Linked DNA regions of Homo sapiens: regions 1, 3 and 4 are each linked to region 2. The links are contacts of gene promoters, found by promoter capture Hi-C in blood cells and fetal thymus (Javierre and others, 2016). All regions are on one chromosome and are shown on one strand. Each heading gives the region's core, a stretch centred on a gene start or on the middle of the fragment in contact. The rest is flanking DNA. Distances are from core to core; before and after follow the strand shown.

Region 1 (3,126 bases), core at 21-2,520, 270 kb after region 2:
GCATACATAAACCTGAACCCTTTAGAGACTATAATATTATGAGGCATTAATTTTTTTTGTTTTTTCCGAGTGGCTTTCAATCTGTAGCTGTATGTTAGCTATATGAAGGTGAGTATACATACATATTGTGAAAGCAAAAATTGCATCCGACAAAGTTAAGCAGCAAGGACAAATGCTATTCAAGACAATTACAATAGGAGAGAGAGGCCAGAAATCAGCCTGCTCAACTCCACTATAACAAGGGGTGGGAGGAACTTTAGGGACTGGTATGAGCTAGTGGAAGGGAACTAGAGAACACTGGAGGATGGGGGCAGGTTGATCACTGGGTTGTGTGAAGCACACTGAGTTTGCAAAATACTTTTCTCTGTGATTAGGTCATCTCTGCTGGCTAATTGGCACCCATTGAAGTTAGGCTCCTACTCTCCCTTAGAGACTGGTAGACAGGGGTGCTATTTTTCATGATGATTACATTTCAAAGGGTTGGCTCCCAGCAACTTGAGAAAGACTTCCCTGAGTAGTACAACAGGCAAGAGGCTTTTAAAAATATTTACATCTCAAAGGGGCAGAGAAAGGATTTACAATTACAATTTTTTCTTTTGTAAATGCTCTAGGAAAAAAAGAAGTCAGGGGCTCAGAATCTGAGAGAAGCCTGTCAAGTTTAGTCAAGCTGAGGGAAACATCAAGGCCTTCTTGATTAAAAGGTATACACTCACACACACTTGCTTCTAATTTATCTTAAAAATATATGCTCTGCTATCAGTGTTCTAAATGTTTTCTTTATTGTGCCATATTTATCTGACAGAACCTGAATAGTAAGCATTTTTAAAGTGTGCATGAACTGCATGAAAATCACCTTATATGACAAATGATGATATGACAAACAGCAAAAATAATTCTTTGTATATAATCCATCATTGCTAATAGGATATAGGCAAGTCAATGGAAGTATGATACAGGTGTTCAATAAATGTATTTGTGTTGATTGATTATTGAAGTTTGCTGGATTTCATGCTCCATGCATTTCTTCTTAAAGTATCAGAATATGTCTATTAAATTCTTTTATACATTTTAAGAGCTTCTGGGGAGTATGTCTGGATGTTCTTTAAAATGCTTTGTGACACTGCAGATGTCACATATGATTTTTTAAAAAATAATAGCCCTGAATATCCCCAGCAGTGCAGGAAGAAATTTGATAGTATTTACATAGAAGCCATCTTGGCGTCCATTTCTCTACCAAGTACAAGATCCACTTTTCAATTCAAACTCAGTCTGGAAGTTTTTCTTCCTTCCAAAGGGAACAGAATTAACAATTCCGCCTAGTTCTACTATTACGGAGATTGCAGACAGAACAGACTGAATGGAAGATAGCAGTCAGATGATGCCCAAGAGTGGCAAAAAACAGTAGATCCAGAGAGACAGAAAGGCAAATCATTCTGGAGGGGTCTTGAGGCCAACAGTGTGAGGGACCACCACCTTCCTTCAATACACTTCAAGATCTAAGTAAAATAATTCAATAACCAAGATTTCTTTTTTTTTGCTGTTGCTAACAAACAGGTATAAAAAGAAATGACCATTTTAATGAAGGTCAGTTGGGGACAGCAAGAATTATGGAGATAAATGGGCTATAGATAACAAAGGAAAAGAATCCCAAGTGAAACCAAACTGGACACACACTTGGCTAACTGTTGGAAAGGAAGGGTTAGAAATTTTGACAGATACCTACAATTATTTTATTTAGAGTTTATAAATAATTATGCTTAAGGTACGATAACTTCTATACAGTTTCCATCCCAATGTCCAGTTTCAATTATTTCAACTAAAACTCTTGTATTGTTCATAAAGTCTAGAGTATAGGAGGTCCCTTTAGGCATCAAAGATGAGAAGCCAAGTCAGAAAAATTCTAACTGACCATTATGCTCAAGATTCCAGTGCTGAGCAGGGCAGGGAAGATAAACAGAGCTGTTTAAGCAAGATTCCTGTCTAGGGTTGTTGCCATGACACAGTTTGGAAGAAGAAGGTCTATCAACAACTTATTTCCCCTGTGCTTCAATGAGTTAAAGCATTTTCTCACAAGAAATAAATGTGTAGTGTTTAAGGATCCTTGACAGAGCTCCTTGTAAACTGAGCTCTCAGAAGTTGTCACTGGAGACCCACCATTTATTTTCCAAACAAAGGTCAAGATTAAACTTGAGGGATTTACCCAAATCTCTAATACAAGAGGATTCAGTTAAGGCTAGAGTTCACATCCTTATGCCTAAACTTCACAAGAGAGAAAATCTTTCAGAGGCACTGGAGAGCAAGAGTGCCTGATTGATACACCCTTGTTATTCTTAATATTGCCCTCTAGCAGTTTTTGAAATGAAGTCTTATGAGGCAGTAAAACTCTCTTATGTATTTTTTTCTACTTTCATTTACTTCAACCCAGGATCATCATGTGACTGAGATGATCAGGTTCAAAAGAGAAGGGAAAATGTGGTATGGGTTTGTATTAGTCCATTCTCACACTGCTATAAAGAACTACATGATACTGGGTAATTTATGAAGAAAACAGGTTTAATTGACTCACAGTTCTGCAGGTTGTACAGGCAGCATGGTTGGGAGGCCTCAAGAAACCTACAATCATGGCGGAAGGGTGAAGGGGAAGCAAGTATGTGCTACATGGAGGAGTAGGAGAGAGAGCAGGAAAGGGGAAGTGCTACATAGTTTTAAACAAACGGGTCTTATGAGAACTCACTCGCTATCATGATAACAGCAAGGAGGAAATCCATCCCCATGATCCAATCACCTCCCACCAGGTCCCTCCCCAAACACTGGGAATTACAATTCGACATGAGATCTGGGTGGGGATATAGAGCCAAGCCATATCAGGGTTTATATTTCATTTTGTCTATCTGGCTTGATTGACCATTGTAGCAGTGATGGTATGTATATTGGAAAATGCACCAGGCAGGCGTAAGTAGCCTCTGGTTTCTTGGGATTTTAGTAAAGTTATTAAATAGAACACATCATGCATCGCTTTAGTCTGCAATAGTATTTTTTAAAGAAAAATGATCAGTTGAAAGTGGCAGTAGGATTGTTTAAGTGTAGGTCCATTTATGGCTCATTTACAGTTTTTATGTAGCTTTG
Region 2 (2,871 bases), core at 147-2,646:
TACAAAATAAAAACAATTGTGGTCAATATGCACAATCTTAAAACACAGATAAATATATATATACACAAAATCAAAGCAATGTGATTGTACTATAAATTGTATTACCACTCTATGAAGAATCATGTCTGGAGAAGTCCTCTAGTCCCTCCACCTACCTCGGGCTTCTAAACTCTGTAGTAAGCTCTTGCTTCATGTCGTTCAAGGGTCTTCCTTGTTTGCTCAGTTTTTCTGTGAGACTGAACACAAAGAACAGACATCGGCTGATTTCTACTTGGACAATGGCCCAGGCACAGGTGCTGTAGTCCTGGTTTTCCAGGTAATCATGGATCCTTCGGAAGTACATTTTAACTTGTAATCTAAGGTTATCACTACCCAAAGTACCACTTAGCTTCTCTGCTTCCAGTCCCATGAGTGCTTCTAGGTATTCTAGCTGTTGATGAAGTTGAATGAGGAATTTCTCCGTGTGGTTTTCCTCCCAACCATCCAGAGAAATATTTGCCCTGAAGAGGCTGAAGATCTGCTGAAGCATCTCATGGAGAATGGCCAGAGTGTGTCCTTTTTGGTACTGCTGAGGACTCAAAGACTTCTGAGGAAGCAGAAAGTTTTTCCTGTGTGGTAGACACTGCTGAATTGACAAGGTTTGCAACTTATTCAAGAGTTTTAAACTTTCTTGATTCACTTGTCTTTGCTGGAAGATAATCAGTTTCAAATCTAGAGAGAAGATAGTGGTAGAGGCCAGCAGCACCAACACAGTTCCAAAGAAGTGCTTGATAATCATGGTGAAGGTCAAATATGCTACTTATCCCTGCATAGACTTAGGGAAATTCCAGCTCTAGTGAATGTTTGCCTTTCATGCATCTCAGATTATTTTGGAGAGTGTTCTCTTTTGTTGCTTTCGTTTTCTAATGTCATTTCTCCAAGTTTACACATTAGATTTTCAGGTTCCCTTTTCATGGTGTTCAGAGTACATTTTCTCCATTTCCCTATTGTGTTGGCTATTTTGAGGAAGTACCAAAATAACTTATTCATTGTATGCTTTCCTTGAGGCAATTACAGACTAGTCATCCAACATAATCTTTTATTATTCTATTCATTATATACAAAGTTTCACTGAACACAATGTGCTTTCTAAATATTTAGTCAAGCTTATTAAAGTTCTTTTATTGAGATTACGTTTTTTTCAGTAATAGTCTTTCATGGAGTAAAACTTACCAAAGGCTTATCAGCACCTATAAAGAATTCAGGGGCAAAACTTAAAATACCTACAAACTACTAAATTTAAAACCTCAATTAGAACTGTAAATTGTCACAAATGCTTGAGCAAATAATTAATTTTAAAACATATATCAGCAATCTTAAATTATTTTATATCTTATCCTATCAGTTTAATATCTAAGATTCTAGCCTATAGAAGCAATGCAAAAAAATTAGCAAAAGAAGAGTGTTATAATATTATTGCAAAGCAGAATATTAGAAACAACCTATAGGTTCAACGACAGGTGAATGATTACATATATGTTGGTACAGCCATATAATTAAATGATATATATCCATTATAGATGACAAAATTATATGTGAAGAGAGATTGGGGGCATTTGGTTAGCGTATATTCCCTAGAATAGTGATAGCTCTGGTAAACTAATGTGAACATCTCTACATTAACAATGTCCTTTGAATTACAAATACCCAGTTCCATATTCTAAGTTCCTCTTGAATAAGCCCCCAATATACCTTTCCAATCTTATCCCACTGTTGCTCTAAATATAGTGTGAAGGAATCTGAACTCCAGATAAAGTAAGTGATTTAGTATTCCCTTAATACAGCTAGCACTTGTGTGTGTGTGTGTTTATTGATGATGCTTTCTCTGAAACATCAACTGTTGCCTCCTTTACCTCAAGAACCTTTCTGTGCAAGGACTAAAGACTACTTGTCCTTTAAGGCCCAGATCTCCCCCAAGGAGCCATAATCTTCTGGATCCCCACAACACTTTGTACCTACCTTATTTAAGACACCTTTCTTGTTCTGTCTTATACTTGACTATGTACTTACATGATTAAAAGTCTCTTCAGAGTGTGAAATAAACACTGATTACTGATTTCTTTGCTGTCTATACAACTATAGTAGTTGCTTAATAAATATGTGTTGACTTGGAATAAATTAATATGTTCTACACAAAGTAATACAAGATGTTGAGTCTTATCTTTAATCATTTCTCTGCAGGCAGCTGGGTGAATCCCTAAATGTCAAAAACAGGCACTCTGTAAACATGTATGGTCTCATTATATACCAGCTCAGCTGTATGTTTGGTCACTTAGTCTAGTATTAATAAGTTGAAATAAACTCAGTCAGCATGCTCCACAGAGGGTCTTTTCCCTCCCTATCTGAGAGAGAGAGAGAGAGAGAGAGAGAGAGAGAAAGAGAAAGAGAGAGAAAAGACATATGATAATATATAATATACGAAAGGAATAACACTTGTTTCATAACATTATGCTCAATCTATCTGGAAAGTAGAATTTTGACTAGTCTCAAAAAATCTTTAAATATTTAATGCTGAGCTTCGGGAAAACAATATAAAAATAAATTAAGAATATCAGAAGTTACTCCATCTAATAACAACGAGCTCTGATCTATAAGGCTTTCTCATCATTTTCATTCAATTGACAAAAATGATCTAAATGTTGTTTAATTTCCAAATGATCAGGGATTTTCCAGATGCCTTTCTGTTACTGATTTCATATTTGAATCTGTTGTGGTTAAAGAATGTAGTTTAAATTTATTGAGACTTATTTTATGGCTTAGAATATGGTTTATCTTGGTGACAGTTCCTTGTGAACTTGAAATAATAATGTTCTACTTTTGTTGGTTGGACTG
Region 3 (3,180 bases), core at 346-2,845, 320 kb after region 2:
CAGAGGGAAGGTTAGAGAAATATGTTTAGGTTTTACGGCTGGCTTTAGGGAAAAGATCTTCTGGTTTCTATTATCCACCTTGGGGAAGAAGGATTCTAGTTTCTATGGTAGCATCAGGGGGATAATGGGCGTGAAAGACAGGCAGGAGAAGGTCAGAGAAAAACTTTCGCTTTTGAGGCTGCTTCTGAGGACTTCCTTTTTGGGGTGTTGTTATCTGAATCTCAACAGTGGAAAAAATAATAATTAATCAAGAGTTTAGACTTTGCAATTAGGACAGATTCAGGACTGAATCTCAATTACTTTAGTTATATAAATTTGAGAAGACTTCTTAAATGCTCTGAGCCTCATGTTCCTCATGCAATGATAGTGATAATAACACCAACACTTGTCCTTTCTCAAACATCACATCCTACCTAGAATTTAATTATCTCAATTTAAGGCTTAATACCTGTAAAATTCATAAACCCCTGGGTGAGGTAACATTTTAAGGTGATTTTGGCAACTTAACAGGTTTGATAGGTTTGATTGACATTTTGATGGGCTAGAGAGAGGGAAGTCCTGAAGATTCCAAACGGACAAGGAAGCTTTGGGGAGAGGCAAATAAGCAGAAAAGATGAAGTTACAGCAATTCAACTTCTCTCTCTCTCCTCCTCTGTAAAATGGAAATTACATTAATAGCAATGACATTAATATCTGTGAGGATTAAATGAAGAATATGTGGCTCTTAATAAATATTAGCTGTTTTGTTGTTGCTCTTGAAGATGCTCAGAAGACAAATATGACTTTGTTCCCAATTTGTTTTTAGGATTGTATGTACAGACAACATATGGATTTGCCAGAGAAGAAAAGCAATGCTTTTAGACTTATTTCCTGCCTTAAGTTTTTAAAGTGGAATAAAGAGCAGTGGGTCACATAAGAGCTCATTATATGGGTCTTTCATCATAGCTTTAGATCCTGACACGCTAAGCAGAGATTATGTTGCATCTGTGATATTAAAATACATCTGGGTATCTATTACTTTTTGGCCCTTTTCTATACAAAGCACAGAAGCTGAGAATCATGTCTCTTCAGATCAAGATTGAACATACTCTCTCTTTCACTGAGGGAGGTATAGGGTTCAGGGCTTAATCTTACACTTTGCTTATCCTATAACAGAAATAATAATACCTATTATTATTTATAATAGGTATGTGAAGATCCTGGGAGTCCAGGGTAGATGGCCATTCTGTTAACCTGAATATGCTTTTAATGTGCAGCATTAATCTAAGAAAAGTGAAAAAATGGTGAGATTTTACTTCAAAAAATCCAAATTATATGCAACTTAAGTCATCTTCAGTAGAGTTTCAGAAATGATAGGGGAGATACAATTTGAAGTGAACTTTGAAGACAAGACAAGGTGATTTGCAATGAAGGATATTTCTAGGGTAAAAGGGACTTTGAATAGAAGGAACGAATAAAGAAAACTGAAGGAGAACTTGATTCTATTGCAACAAGAAACATATGGCTAATTCCAACTATCTGGAGCATACCAACTTTAAAGCAGACTGTCAAAACTGACCCTACTTAACTCATTTTAAAGCATGGGGTTCTTCCCTCAACCAAAAACACAGATGCCAGGTTACACTTTATAACTGGACTCTCCACTTTCATTAAAGGTCATTATAAGGAATTGCCACCTAAAATGTGATGTAAATATTTTTTGAGAAACCTAGTATATCACTTGCAATTCCCTCTATAAAGTACCTGCAATAAATGCATTTTTAATATTAGATTTCAGTAATATTTTCTTCACTTGTGACATACTACTTATTTTGTTTTATCACTATGATAATGGGAGAATGGAACACTTCTCTTTGTTTTTTGTTCTTATTTCCTTAAAGTTTTAGAGTAATAGTCACATACTAACCTATAAGAAATTTAGAAAGGTTCAATTAGGCCTTCTATGACAAAAATATCTAAGTCTCTAGTTACTAAAATGTTAATGTTTATGTTGTATCATGGTCTATACTGCAGAGTCAGGGTAAAGACACATAGCTGTATTTTTTAGATCAATAATTTGTTCAGTTATTTACAATCAAGAGTGTTAAGAGAACTTGGATTGCAGACAAATCTCTTATACATTTATCCAATTATATTCAATGTTTTTTCAGAAGGGTACCTTAGGACTGGCCTGGTACATACTTGCATATCTTTTGCTTCTTAATAAACACTAGCCACTATTTTCTTTTCAGTACATTTTTTTTCCTTCTTGGGCAGGATAAAGAGAAGTTGATTATTCTGATAATTGCCTGTGGAGAAGTTTCTTTGGATACAATTTTATTAAGGGCATTGAGTCTCTGAGTTTAACTTTTTTCTTCCCAATGACCACACTGTGCACAACGATGATGTTGTGGATTTTGAACCTGAATTTATACCAGTTCAGACATCTTTGGCTTCTTCATGCTGGCATAGGCTTGCCTGGCTGAGAATCTGAAGATGCAATAATTTTTAAAATGTATTACTGTCATTATTATAATTAGTTTACTTATTGTTCCCCCAGATATTTTTTCAACAATGTTCTGCTAAATCTAGAGTGGCTGCTTGCTAATAGAACTTTAGCTTTTTCACAAAGCTTCCAATGTGGGAATCTAATCCATTGTCAAAAGTAGTGGCCAAAATGTCCCTACTCATTGTGGCTGTGATACAGGTGTATTGTAAAAAGATGTGATTCACACACCATTGGGGATCTCTAAGCACACCTCCATGTTATTTAGAATTTTTATTTTGGCCCAAATATCTACAAGGTAGTGGGGAGTTATGTGAGTTTCTTAGGCCATGACAACTTGCCAGCTTTAATACCTTCAGATGAGGATGGGTTACCAGCCAGCTTGGGCCCATTTTGTAGTACCCATCCAGGACAGACATACTGGTCAGGGGCAGAAATATAACAATTCAGTGGGAAAGCTGATATGGTTGGCTGAGGTGATACATTTCATGCATTTGTGTGAATACTTCCTCCTGAAGATTTGATGATTCTGGAATGGTTTGGAGACGACTTCAAAAATAACATGTTTAGTAAAAGGGAACTGTAGGACACTGAAGAACCACTGCTCAAGACCCAACATAGTCAGCTACTGGTGATAACCATTTCAGTACTTTGTTGGCTAGGACCTAGAAGTTGGGAAGACATTTATGAGAGAT
Region 4 (2,896 bases), core at 364-2,863, 300 kb after region 2:
CTGTCATGGGGTGGGGGGAGAGGGGAGAGATAGCATTAGGAGATATACCTAATGTAAATGATGAGTTAATAGGTGCAGCACACCAACATGGCACATGTATACATATGTAACAAACCTGCACGTTGTGCACATGTACCCTAGAACTTAAAGTATAATTTAAAAAGGAGCTACGTTCTTAATATATTCATTTCAAAATTGATAATAGTAGTAGCTAATATTTGCTAAGCACTTACGATGTGTCAAGCACTGTTCTAAGTACTTTGTATATTTAATCTAATATAATCCTGAAACAACCTCATTCGTTAGCTACTATTAATATCTCTATGTTATAGGTGAGGAAACTGAAGTGCAAAGAAGCTTAATAAGTTTTTTCAAGTTCACTCAGCTACAAAAGGGAATAGGTGGAATTCAAACCTATGCAATGTGACCTCATGAAAATAGAACTATAGATTATTTTTTTCATGCTGTCCTATATTATGATTGAAATATTGCTCAAATTATTTTTAAAAGAAGGAATTTTCTGTAATCTTTTCCACTCCAAAAAAGCTAAATGTGTAGAAAACATATCTCTGTAGTGCTTTACCAAATTCTGTAGTATTTCTCTAACTCTTTGAGGATTACTTAGTCTAAAAAGCACCTGGGAAAACAAGGATCAGCACTCCACATCCTAGTATCATTCCTAATAAACCAGTTTCACCTATACCTTGATTAAAGAGAGTTAATGCCACCAGCTTCCAGGAACTATCAGCTCTACCGTGCCTGTTGGGACAAAGATTATTATCATATGTTCTCATTTACCTGGTGAACACACTGCACTCTACTGTAGGTGAACACTCCTACACTAAAGAAATAACTACAATCAAATTATAGAAAATCATACTTTCCTTGATTGCAGAGACATAGGTTAGAAAAAAATGTGTAACAACCTTTTTTTACCTTTTCATAAATAAAATCCTGCAGGGAATTCTCTAACTTGAACATTGTTAACAGATGACATACCAATCTCTTTTGCTTTCACTCAAGAACAAAGGTAAATCTGAGTGTCATCGTGTGTATACACTCAGTTTAGATTCCTTTTAGAGAAATAATATACTGGTTTGTCTTGCATAGTTTGGGGCCGCTGGATTGTGGTGACATTTTCAGTAAACCCCAAATGCTGATTAATCTCTCCAAACTAGTCCTCTTATCTAGCTCATTCCTAAGAATCAATATTCTTTAAAAAAATTTTCCAATATATAATCATTTAAATATTTTAGGGGCTTTTCCTATAAGTCTTCAGCGATAATCAAAGAGACCTGAGACAGAAGAAGAAAACAACAAATACACAGAAACTAATTTCCACCTGTGACAACTCCATTGATTTATCTTTGGAATAGAAACTGCTTTCATTCTCTTTGGAATGTGCTGATTTTTTTTTTCTTAGATTGTATCTCAGTGACCTGGGTTAAGTACAAGATACTCAGCAAGTTGTTCAGTAGGTAAAAGGAAGTCACTAATTTATCCCCTCTACCTATTGCCAAGCAAATTCACTTAGGGGTGAGGCTCCAGAAATGCTTTCTTCATGACTGACCAGCAGTTAGATGACATGGCTTCTGGGACAGAATGACGGCGTTAGCAGAGTCAGGGCTAAACTTTGTTAGTGCTTCTCACCTTTGCATAAGTCATTTCAACCAACAGTCTTGTTTTCACTTCCTGTCCAGGTGAAGAGAAGGGCAATGATTAAAACCTACTCCCTGGCATATTTGTAAAACATTTTGAATTTCTCCTAATGGGATTTTTTTTTTCTAGAAAGTGCAAAACACTAGATTACATTAACCATCTTTAATGCTACGCTGAGACAAATTATATAGATATAATTTATAAAGGAATAATTTTAATATATTAAGAGGCATTTCTATGTTGAAGGAGAAAATTTATGTATTTTATACATGACATTATATTTTATTTGATAATATATATAATATACATCTGCTAGTTGAGATTTCTCTTTTAAAAAAACTGTGTTACAAATTTATTTTTAAGAAAGTGGGTCTAATTGGAAATGGCATAAAGAAAGATTTCACTGGGACACAGGATGTTTTTGTAAATAAAGTATGATTCAGCATCAAATTTATAACAATTTAAACAAAAATTTAGGAAAGATTTCACAGGCCTCCAGCTGAAAGTTCTTTTTTTTAAATTCCAGTCAGCGTTTTTGGTTTTCCTTAAAGTGATCATGATTTGAAATGACTAGGAAGTACCTGCTGCCTTGCGTGGGAATAGAAATTTACTTCCTTAAACCTATACAGGGTTTGCTAGGATTTAATTTCTATGTAAGGCAGAGGTTAGAATATATTCACCTCTAATCAGTCTGTCCGGCTGTAAGATCCCTTTTCAGGAATTGTTTCTAGGACACACACACAAAAAATTGGTGGGGAAAACTACATTCTCATTTATTTCTTCCCTAACACTGGTTGTTTAAACCCACCCACAAATCAGAATTAAGTGCTTCTTCTCTGGGCCATAAACCTCCCACTTTGCTCCTTAAGTACACTCTCATGTCACTCTGCTTTGAATTAAAATTATTTGTTTTCAGGTTGACTTCCTCTAGTAGAGTATAAGCTCCTTAGAGGCCAAAATCTGTGTCTTATTCATTCAAGTGGACCCTACAGCTAGGGTGTCATATAATTTACTGTCCAATCTTGGACAATAGCTACAAGTGTACCTCTGGTCTCACACAGACTTGGTCCAGACTTGATTGTGATCTCATCTGTACAATGGGCATAATATGAGTAGACATCTTATATTACTTTGAGAAATAAATAAAATAATTCATAAAATATACTTAGCTCTATATCATGCCATTATATGTAGCAAGAATTTGGGGAGGAAAAGCTTGTTGAGTCCTTCAATTGAA

Evidence for each region. Contacts are between HindIII fragments. The CHiCAGO score rates a contact against its expected background, and 5 or more counts as called.
Region 1: a contact is called between a fragment that was not itself captured here and the fragment with the promoter of IFNE in region 2, in 4 of 17 cell types (non-activated CD4 T cells, naive CD8 T cells, naive CD4 T cells and 1 more). The highest score is 6.2, in non-activated CD4 T cells.
Region 3: a contact is called between a fragment that was not itself captured here and the fragment with the promoter of IFNE in region 2, in 10 of 17 cell types (endothelial precursors, naive CD8 T cells, naive CD4 T cells and 7 more). The highest score is 13.4, in endothelial precursors.
Region 4: a fragment that was not itself captured here is called in contact with the fragment with the promoter of IFNE in region 2 in 10 of 17 cell types (naive CD4 T cells, endothelial precursors, total CD4 T cells and 7 more); the score reaches 11.8 in naive CD4 T cells.

Annotation. Positions count from the first base shown.
Region 1 is chr9:21,751,779-21,754,904 of GRCh38, forward strand. All of the region lies in intron 1 of LOC107987026 (a long non-coding RNA gene), which reads right to left. Among named protein-coding and RNA genes, the nearest start is that of MTAP, 49 kb to the right of the region's middle. The HindIII fragment of the contact is 4,259 bases long and covers 1-3,126 here.
Region 2 is chr9:21,480,917-21,483,787 of GRCh38, forward strand. IFNE (interferon epsilon) reads right to left here and starts at 1,397. Exons shown (of 1, transcript NM_176891.5): 1 at 1-1,397. The coding sequence starts at 778. The coding sequence ends at 152. The region is part of intron 1 of MIR31HG (MIR31 host gene); the gene reads right to left. The HindIII fragment of the contact is 2,296 bases long and covers 1,144-2,871 here.
Region 3 is chr9:21,797,151-21,800,330 of GRCh38, forward strand. No RefSeq gene overlaps it. Among named protein-coding and RNA genes, the nearest start is that of MTAP, 3.9 kb to the right of the region's middle. The HindIII fragment of the contact is 2,027 bases long and covers 583-2,609 here.
Region 4 is chr9:21,780,821-21,783,716 of GRCh38, forward strand. No RefSeq gene overlaps it. Among named protein-coding and RNA genes, the nearest start is that of MTAP, 20 kb to the right of the region's middle. The HindIII fragment of the contact is 2,517 bases long and covers 356-2,872 here.